2 separate regions of the Homo sapiens genome follow, and region 2 is linked to region 1. Evidence: promoter capture Hi-C in human tissues and cell types (Jung and others, 2019). All regions are on one chromosome and are shown on one strand. The core of a region is centred on a gene start or on the middle of the fragment in contact, and the rest is flanking DNA. Distances in the headings are between cores, read along the strand shown.

The links. The method cuts DNA at HindIII sites, captures the fragments that hold promoters and counts their contacts. A contact is called where the count stands out against the background at its distance.
Region 2: a contact is called between a fragment that was not itself captured here and the fragment with the promoter of TMC1 in region 1, in 2 of the 25 tissues and cell types used here (H1 embryonic stem cells and liver).

What each region holds. Positions count from the first base shown.
Region 1 is chr9:72,518,535-72,523,071 of GRCh38, forward strand. It overlaps TMC1 (transmembrane channel like 1), which reads left to right and starts at 3,074. Exons shown (of 24, transcript NM_138691.3): 1 at 3,074-3,379. The HindIII fragment of the contact is 10,357 bases long and covers 275-4,537 here.
Region 2 is chr9:72,553,998-72,558,702 of GRCh38, forward strand. All of the region lies in intron 1 of TMC1 (transmembrane channel like 1), which reads left to right. It overlaps LOC101927191 (a long non-coding RNA gene), which reads right to left. Exons shown (of 5, transcript XR_242619.5): 5 at 3,625-3,828. Among named protein-coding and RNA genes, the nearest start is that of TMC1, 35 kb to the left of the region's middle. RefSeq lists an enhancer at 3,325-4,524. The HindIII fragment of the contact is 5,070 bases long and covers 1-4,202 here.

The DNA.
Region 1 (4,537 bases), core at 1,824-4,323:
CTACTCAGGAGGCAGAGGCAGGAGAATCGCTTGAACCCTGGAGGTGGAGGTTGCAGTGAGCTGAGATCACGCCACTGCACTCCAAGCTAGGTGGCAGAGCGAGACTCCATCTCAAAATAAATAAATAAATAAATAAATAAATGGAATAATGCTTACAAAACCTAGCACATGGTTATCACCAGATAGATGTCATGATTGGTATATAAATATAAATAAATGAGGAGGTTTTTCCAGTAAAACATTGGAGGAGGTAAAGACAGCTGAGAAAGCAACTACTGCCTTGGTACTACATTCTTTTCTTTATTAGAATGAGAACTCAGATGTGCTTCCGATGTCCTTTAGCCAGAATAACTTCTGGAAAGAGCCCAAGATATATTAACATGTATACTACAGAAAAGATTTGAACAATAGCCCCTCAGTTGTGCAAAGTAGGCCAGCATTCCAGAGAGCCTTCCGGACATTCGCTTTTAAATTTCTGTGTCCCTAAAACTATGGTGTAAACTGAAATGACAGGACTTACAGCTCTAAGTTATAAAAATCAGAAAGGACCAGACACATTTAAACAATGCCTCAGCATGCAAGCCATTTGTGATAAAGCAAATTAATTTCTAATTTTCTTATTGTAACTTAGGGGAAGTGGTCTTTTGAAAAATTCATATTAAGCAGGGGATGAAAACAGGAAATGGATTTTGCAGTCTTCAGTCTTAATTTAAGATGCCAAATGGCACTGACAATTGCATGTGCTGCCTTTGTTTTAGTGACGGTAAAAAGAAAAAACAGGTTGGGCGCGGTGGCTCACGCCTGTAATCCCAGCACTTTGGGAGGCTGAGGTGGGTGGCTCACTTGAGGTCAGGAGTTCAAGACCAGTCTGGCTAACATGGTGAAACCCCATCTCTAATAAAAATACAAAAATTAGCTGGGCGGTAGTGGTGTGTACTTGTAATCCCAGCTACTCGTGAGACTGAGGCAGGAGAATCGCTTGAACCCAGGAGGCGGAGGTTGCGGTGAGCTGAGATCACACCACTGCACTCCAATCTGAGTGACAGAGTGAGACCCTGTCCCCCAAAAAATAAAAAATGAAATTAAAATTAAAAAATAAAAAAACAGCTGGGAGTCTGAGGCAGGCAGATCACGTGAGGTCAGGAGTTGAAGACCAGCCTGGTCAACATGGTGAAACCCCGTCTCTACAAAAATACAAAAATTAGCTGGGCATGATGGCAGGTGCCTGTAATCCCAGCTACTCAGGAGGCTGGGGCAGGAGAATCACTTGAACCTGGGAGGCAAAGACTGCAGTGACCCACGACAGTGCTACTGCATTCTGGCCTGGGTGACAGAGCGAGACTCTGCCTCAAAAAATAAAAATAAAATAAAAAATAAAAATAAAAAACAAATGAAAACCAACCAAACAACAACAACAAAAGCCAAAAATAAAAATGCCTGTGAGAGATTTCTTAGAGTCACTCATTATTAGTTCATGCTCCCAGTAGAGATATTTCTTCAATCAAGTCCCAGTTTCCTCCTCTTTTATTGCATTCTTTCGTGAAGAAAGCTTAAAGAAATGAATTCTTGTCCTTGGAAATGAGGGAGGACTATACTATGCTTTCTCTAGAAGGCACTACTGTGTGTTTGAGCATGTTTTTCAAATAATTAGTAGGTGTGAGTGGTTCTGCCAATAGACATACTACATTTATTTTCAGTGATCACTTGAAAAACACACCTATAAGCTTATAATTGCTGACATTAACAAACAACAGGTATGAAGATGCTGTTCACAAAAAGTGCATGTAGTTCCATGTGTTTTATTTAGTCTGTTTGAAATGAAGTTTAGCATATCTATAGCACACAGCATGAAACATGTCAGTCATTTTGAATTTAACATTGTGCATAATGTATTCATAAGAATTATATTTATTTATTAGCATTTATCTTCAAATCAAAGGTTAAAAGTTTCAAGATGCACAAAAATGGTTAACTTTCTGTGAGAAGTCTGAGAAATCACTGAAGACATGAAAATGACAGGCTGGAGGAAGAAGTAAAGAACCTAGAAGGCCAAAATGGAATTCTAAGATAACATGAATATAGAACATAGAAAAGAGAAAGGATTGATTGAAAAAAGGAAAGGGGAAAAAAAAGGAATTATTAAATGGAAACATTAGATTCAAGTAAACCCAAAACAATCATCAAAGTAGATGTTAACAGCATTTTGAGTACATGTTGTGAGTATGAGAAGTGCAATTCTAAATGTTAGGCCCTTATGTTTTAACATATCAGCAAATACAATATTTTGTTTCTAATTTAACAAATTTTTAAGACTTATGTTAGTTGTGACATATTTCCAATAAATAATTATGTTTCCCAAGGACACTGGGTACAATAAAGTGGGTCTGACAATTAACTTACCTTTGAAACCTGAGCCCTTCATTAGTTACAGGAATAGACTGGAACATGATTTTTCCTCTCCTGCTTGGAGAACCCACAAGTTGTGTTTTCTTTATGAATATTGGAAATTCTTTCTTTTAGCCAAATGAAGGGTGTGCATTTCTTCGGCCAGGAGTTACCAGGCTGATAATCCTGATGCAGCGGTTCTCAAAGTCTCCTCAGAAGGCCCGCAGTAGCACCAGCAGCACCAAAGGACTTGTTGGAAACACCAGTTTTCTAGGCCGGGCACAGTGGCTCATGCCTGTAATCCCAGCACTTTCGGAGGCCGAACTCCTGAGGTCAGGAGTTTTGAGACCAGCCTGGCCAACATGGCAAAACCCCGCCTCTACTAAAAATACAAAAATTAGCCGGGTGTAGTGGCGGGCACCTGAAATCACAGTTACTTGGGAGGCTGAGGCAGGAGAATCACTTGAACCTGGGAGGCAGAAGTTGCAGTGAGACAAGATCACACCATTGCACTCCAGCCTGGGCGACAAGAGCAAAACCTCTGATTAGAAAAAAAAAAACAAACAGGCGCCGTGGCTCACGCCTATAACCCCAGCACTTCAGGAGGTTGAGGTGGGCGGATCACCTGAGGTCAGGAGTTCAAGATCAGCCTGGCCAATAGAGTGAAACCCCGCCTCTACAAAAACATGATGGCGCGCGACTGTTTCCCATCTACTCAGAGGCTGAGGCGGGAGAATCGCTTGAACCCGGAAGGCGGAGGTTGCAGTGAGCTGAAATCACGCCATTGCGCTCCAGCCTGGGTGACAGAGCAAGACTCCGTCACAAAAAAAAAAAGAAAAAAGAAACACCAGTTTTCTGATTTCACCGAAGACCTACTGCCTCAGAAACTATGAGGGCAGAACCCAGCAATCTGTGCTTTCTTTCACAAGCCCTCCAGGAGTTGCTGAAATTTAGGAATCATTGCCCCAAAAAGTGGCCCTCATAATGATGCCAGGTAAGGAAAGACAACATTATTACCTATGTGTGGTGTGTTAACATTCTTTATGAAACATGTGTGAAGACCTAAATCGAAGACTTTCTCCATGAGATATTCCCTAATCACATTAGTGAAATAAAACTATATTTCCTCTACTTTTCTACTGCTACAGAAATCTCCCCCAGTTAGGATAGTCCCAGTTTCCTATTTATCTTTGTTTTTCTTGCAGTGCACAGCATGTCACCCAGTAATTGATAAGTTTTTTTTTTTTTGAGACGGAGTCTTGCTCTGTCTCCCAGGCTGGAGTGCAGTGGCGCGATCTCGGCTCCCCAAGTAGCTGGGACTACAGGCGCCCGCCATCACGCCCGGCTAATTTTTTGTATTTTTAGTAGAGACGGGGTTTCGCCGTGTTAGCCAGGATGGTCTCGATTTCCTGACCTCGTGATCCGCCCGCCTCAGCCTCCCAAAGTGCTGGGATTACAGGCGTGAGCCACCGCACCTGGCCTAATTGATATGTTTAAATGTTAAAATTAAATGCAATGATTTCCTAAAATAAACAAATGTGGGACAATTTATTGCACTCTGTTCAAATTCCCATTTTGAAGTGGAATTCAAACAAACATGACAGTAAAGGGGGACAGTGAGCACAGGGACAAGAGAAAAGGAGAAAGGGAAGAAATACAGAGAACTAGATAGGAGGAAGTGTCAAAGACTGATGGGTGTAAGCCACCTTTACCTCTGGATATTGGTTTTCCTTTGAATTGTGGTATGTGGTCATATTGCTTATTAGTTATAACATACAGCTGTCAGAAGAGTTTTTCAATTAAAATTTCAAATGTAATATTAAAACTGTTTGGATTCCTTCCTACTGGGCACTGGACACTGTCTGTGGAGCTGCTGGAACAGCGCTGAATAGGGTCATATTTTAAAGGAACTCAGCCTAGTGCAGTTTCTCAACCTTAGCACTATTGGCCTTTGGGGCCTGATAATCCTTTTTTGTGAGGGGCTGTCCTGTGCACTGTAGGATGTTTAGCAGCATCCTTGGCTTCTACTCAGTAGATGACAGTATCAACCCCCTTCCCCAGAAGTGACAATTAAAAATGTCTCCAGACTTTTCCAAATGTCCCCTGAGGAGCAAAATTGTCTCCAGTTGAAAACCACTGGGTTAGTGGGAGA
Region 2 (4,705 bases), core at 418-2,917, 34 kb after region 1:
CACAATTGCTCCACTTTCTCAAACAGAGCACAAAGCATCTAACAATATTTCTTCATGATTGATAGCATACACACTCTTGACTTCATATTCTTCAAAATCTTGGTATTTTTATAAGCATTAGTGCCTTTTTTTTCCCCAGTCAGAAGCACTGACGGATTTATTCTATTGGGTGTTGTCTTCTGTTTGGTCTTTAGCTTTTCTTAGCTGTGATCGTTTATTGCTGAATAATTAAGGGCAATTCTTTCCCACTGAAATACTTTTCAAGTTAAACATTTTTTCCTTAAATTTTTGCCCCAGGCTACTTCTAGATCCAGCGTTGTTCCAGCTTACTGAGCATTCCAGAGGGCTAAGGTCCAAGTTAGCCAAGGTTTTAAAATGTTGACCATGTGGACCTGAATTCTTTCCAGTTACATATTTGCATACTTTTAACAGGAGTGGTTATTTCTCGTCAAAAGACAGAACGCTGGAAATACCAGGGCAAAACTATGTGTTTTTTTCTTGGTGATATCTTGATCTTAGCATTTTACTCTCTCTTCCTGGTTTCTAGCTTGACCTTTGTATTTTAGAGGAGAGTAATAGAGTAACAGTGCACTGAGAAGCAATGGGACATGACAGAATAGTTTCAGCAGTGAAAGTCAGGGAAGCTGGTTTCAACCATTCATTCACAAGCTTAAAGGACTTTGGTATCTGACTTTGTGGATGCCACTTTCTCATCTGTAAAATAAGGGGGTTGGATCGTGTGATTTATAAGGGGCTTTCTTACTTTCTAACATTCCATATTCTATAAAGACAGTTAAAGTCTCCAGAGAGTAAAGAATGTAGAAAATTCCTGAAATTTACTCAGCTCCTTTATTCCTAAATATTTTTGAATTCTGAAATTATTATTATTATTATTTTTTGAGATGGAGTCTCACTCTGCTGCCCAGGCCAAAGTGCGATGGCACAATCTCAGCTCACTGCAATCTCTGCTGCCCAGGTTCAAGTGATTCTCCTGCCTCAGTCTTCTGAGTAGCTGGGATTACAGGCATGTGCCACCATGCCTGGCTAACTTTTGTATTTTCAGTAGAGAAGGGGTTTCACCATGTTGGACAGGGTAGTATCAAATTTCTGACCTCAAGTGATCCACCCGCCTCGGCCTCCCAAAGTGCTGGAGTTACAGCCAAAGCACCTGACCTGAATTCTGAGTTTTGATTCTGTTTTTTTTTTTTTTTTTTTGAGACAGAGTTTTGCTCTTGTCACCCAGGCTGGAGTGCAATTGCACGTTCTCCGCTCACAGCAACCTCCATCTCCCGGGTTCAAGTGATTCTCCTGCCTCAGCCTCCCAAGTAGATGGGACTACCACCGTGCCTAGCTAATAATTTTGTGTATTTTAGTAGAGATGGGATTTCACTGTGTTAGCCAGGATGGTCTTGATCTCTTGACCTCGTGACCCTCCCTCCTTGGCCTCCCAAAGTGCTGGGATTACAGGCGTGAGATACTGCGCCCGGCCCATACTCACAGATTTCTTTGTGATATTATCTCATTTGTTTTCACCACACCCAGATGATGTGGATGGTAGGAGAAATCCCATGCGAATAAGTGGAATATGTTAGTAACTGCTTCCTTGGGTCCTTTTGCCTCTGGACTTAACTCTTTTTTTTTGAGACGGAGTCTTGCTCTGTCACCCATGCTGGAGTGCAGTGGCGCAATCTTGGCTCACTGCAACCTCTGCCTCCCAGATTCAAGCAATTCTCCTGCCTCAGCCTCCCGAGTAGCTGGGATTACAGGCATGTGCTGCCACGCCTGGCTAATTTTTTTGTATTTTTAGTAGAGATGGGGTTTCACCATATTCCCCAGGCTGGTCTCAAACTCCTGACCTTGTGATCCACCCACCTTGACCACCCAAAGTGCTGGGATTAGAGGCATGAGCCACTGCACCTGGCCTGGACTTAACTCTTAAATGATGTTACCCAGGAAAACCAATCTATGACTAAGGCAAAAAAAAAAAAAAAAAAAAAAAAAAAAAAAGTTGCACAGAGAAGAGTGGAAATATCAGTAAATCAGAAGCTAGGCAGGCCTAATCCCTAATCCACTTGGTGACCTTCTGCAAAACACCTTTCTGTTAGCCTTTTCACCCGTGAATTTTTTTTTTTTTTTGAGACGGAGTTTCGCTTTGGTTAGCCAGACTGGAGTACAATGGTGCGATCTCAGCTCACTGCAACCTTCGCCTTCTGGGTTCAAGGGATTCTCCTGCCTCAGCCTCCTGAGTAGCTGGGATTACAGGAACCTGCCATCACACCCAGATAATTTTTGTATTTTTAGTAGAGATGGGGTTTCACCGTGTTGGCCAGGCTGGTCTTGAACTCCTGACCTCAGGTGATCCACCTTCCTCGGCTGCCCAAAGTGCTGGGATTACAGGCGTGAGTCACTGTGCCTGGCTTACTTGTGAAATTAAAGCTTCAACTTTTACTCCTTAGGAACGTCTCACAAATTTCCACACATAAATCTAAAGTAGACACTCCTGCTTGCCAAAAGCATACTCTCTAAAACATTGGTTCTCAGACGGACATAGTGGCTCATGCCTGTAATCCCAGCACTTTGGGAGGCCGAGACGGGTGGATCACTTGAGATCAGGAGTTTGAAACCAGCATGGCCAACATCGTGAAACCCCATTTCTACTGAAAATACAAAAAAAATTAGCCAGGTATGGTGGTGCGTGCCTGTAATCCCAGCTACTCGGGAGGCCGAAGCAGGAGAATCACTTGAACCTGGGAGGCGGAGGTTGCAGTGAGCCAGATCCCGCCACTGCACTCTAGCCTGGGAGATAGAGCGAGACTCTGTCTTGGAAACAAACAAACAAACAAACAAACAAAAAAATTGGTTCTTGAGCAGGGCAATTTCACCTCCAAGGGGACATTTGACAATGGCTGGGGACATTTTTGGTTGTCACATCTGGGGTTGGGGAGTGAAGTGCTATTGGCATCTAATACGTAGAGGCCAGGGATGCTGCTGAACATCCTGCAGTGCACAGGACAGCCCCTGACAGCATTAAACAGTCCAAAATGTCAATTGTTTTTTGAGGTTGAGAAACGCTGGTCTAAAAGAAATGACAGGACAGGTGGCTTGGCTCATGCCTATCATCCCAGCACTTTGGGAGGCTGAGGCGAGTGGATCACCTGAGGCCAGTAGCTTGAGACCAGCCTGGCCAACATGGTGAAACCTCTTCTCTACTAAAAATACAAACAATAGCCGGGCGTGGTGGCCCACACCTGTAATCCCAGCTATTCAGAAGGCCAAGGCAGGAGAATCGCTTGAACCCGGGGGGCAAAGATTGCAGTGAGCTAAGATCATGCCACTGCACTCCAGCCTGGGTGACAGAGTGAGACTCTCAAAAAAACAAACAAACAAAAAAACAGAAATGACTCAAATGTTTACAGTGATTACTTCTGGATGGGATTATGATAATTGTTTCTCTACTGTTCTAAAAAACTTTCTGTTCTTTCCAAATGTTTAATATTGAGCACTTATTTTACAATCATTAAACAAAGAAATGACAACAACTGTTAAAAAAAAATTCTTAAGAACTGAAAGGCAAACACCACCACCACTAAAGCCATGTCCCCCAGATCTAGGTTGTGAGTCACATGATACCGACTTCAGAGGCAGCATGTCTCAAGGCCTCTCCAATGTGTGTCAGGGACAGCAGTGGGAGTAGGGCCCTCTGAGTCAGCCTCTTTGACCTGGGATGCTGCAGGAGATCTTAGCAAACATTCAAGATTTTCACTGAGTCATTTGCCTGTGGCATTGATCTGCTCACTCAAGTCTTCCGGTGTTTTGGTGTGAGGGAGGCTAAAGAGGAAAAACAGCTGTTTAGTTTCTCATTGATTTGTATTGTCATTGAGCAATACCTGGAGCCCAAGTGGATGTCTTTTATTCTGTGGCCTCCACAGCTGGGTCAGTGTGGAAGGCTTCAGACCATGAGAAATTGTTCCTGGGAGTCAATTATTTTAATAAGTGAGATATCAGAGTATATTCACAGAAAGAGGCTTCCCTGGCACTGTAAGGGCAGCCAGGAATAAAATAAAAATGCTTCTTCAGTGAAGATAATTGTCCAAATTGAAGACATAGGAAATATTTCTAATTTGCCTGTGTATTTGGTGAACATTTCTCTCTCTCTCTCTCTTTCTCTCTTTCTCTCTCTCTCTCTCTTTCTGTCTCCATAAATGAAGACATGGGAAAATCTATTAAAAATTAAATTAAAATGCAACACTTTTACATAAACAAAATTCCCAATCACTCTCCTTACTTTACCTCAGCCCAACCAAATGTGAGTTAAATCTCTTCCCTTTCCCATGGGACACTAGCATCTTGGTGGCCCAGCTCAGTAGCTAAGCATAGAGTAATGAGTTTGTTAAATAATTTCAATTACATTGTTTTTGAGATTCCAGGGTCACAGGGAAATTCTGACCTGAATTATCTGGATGAACTCTCACAATTGTGCACTGCCTTGTTCAAATTTGGGAAGTGCTGAGAAGCACTCATCCAAGGGGTAGATCTGGACTTCAGCTCATGCAGCATAATAGAATTTCAGGCTCAGTGATTTCTAATCTGTTACCACTTGCCATTTTCTACTTGAAGAGGGCAGACACCTTCACTGATCTCTGTTTCTATTTCATCTTTTGAAAAATCGGGATGATAATGGTTATCTGGTTTACATGCTTTTACA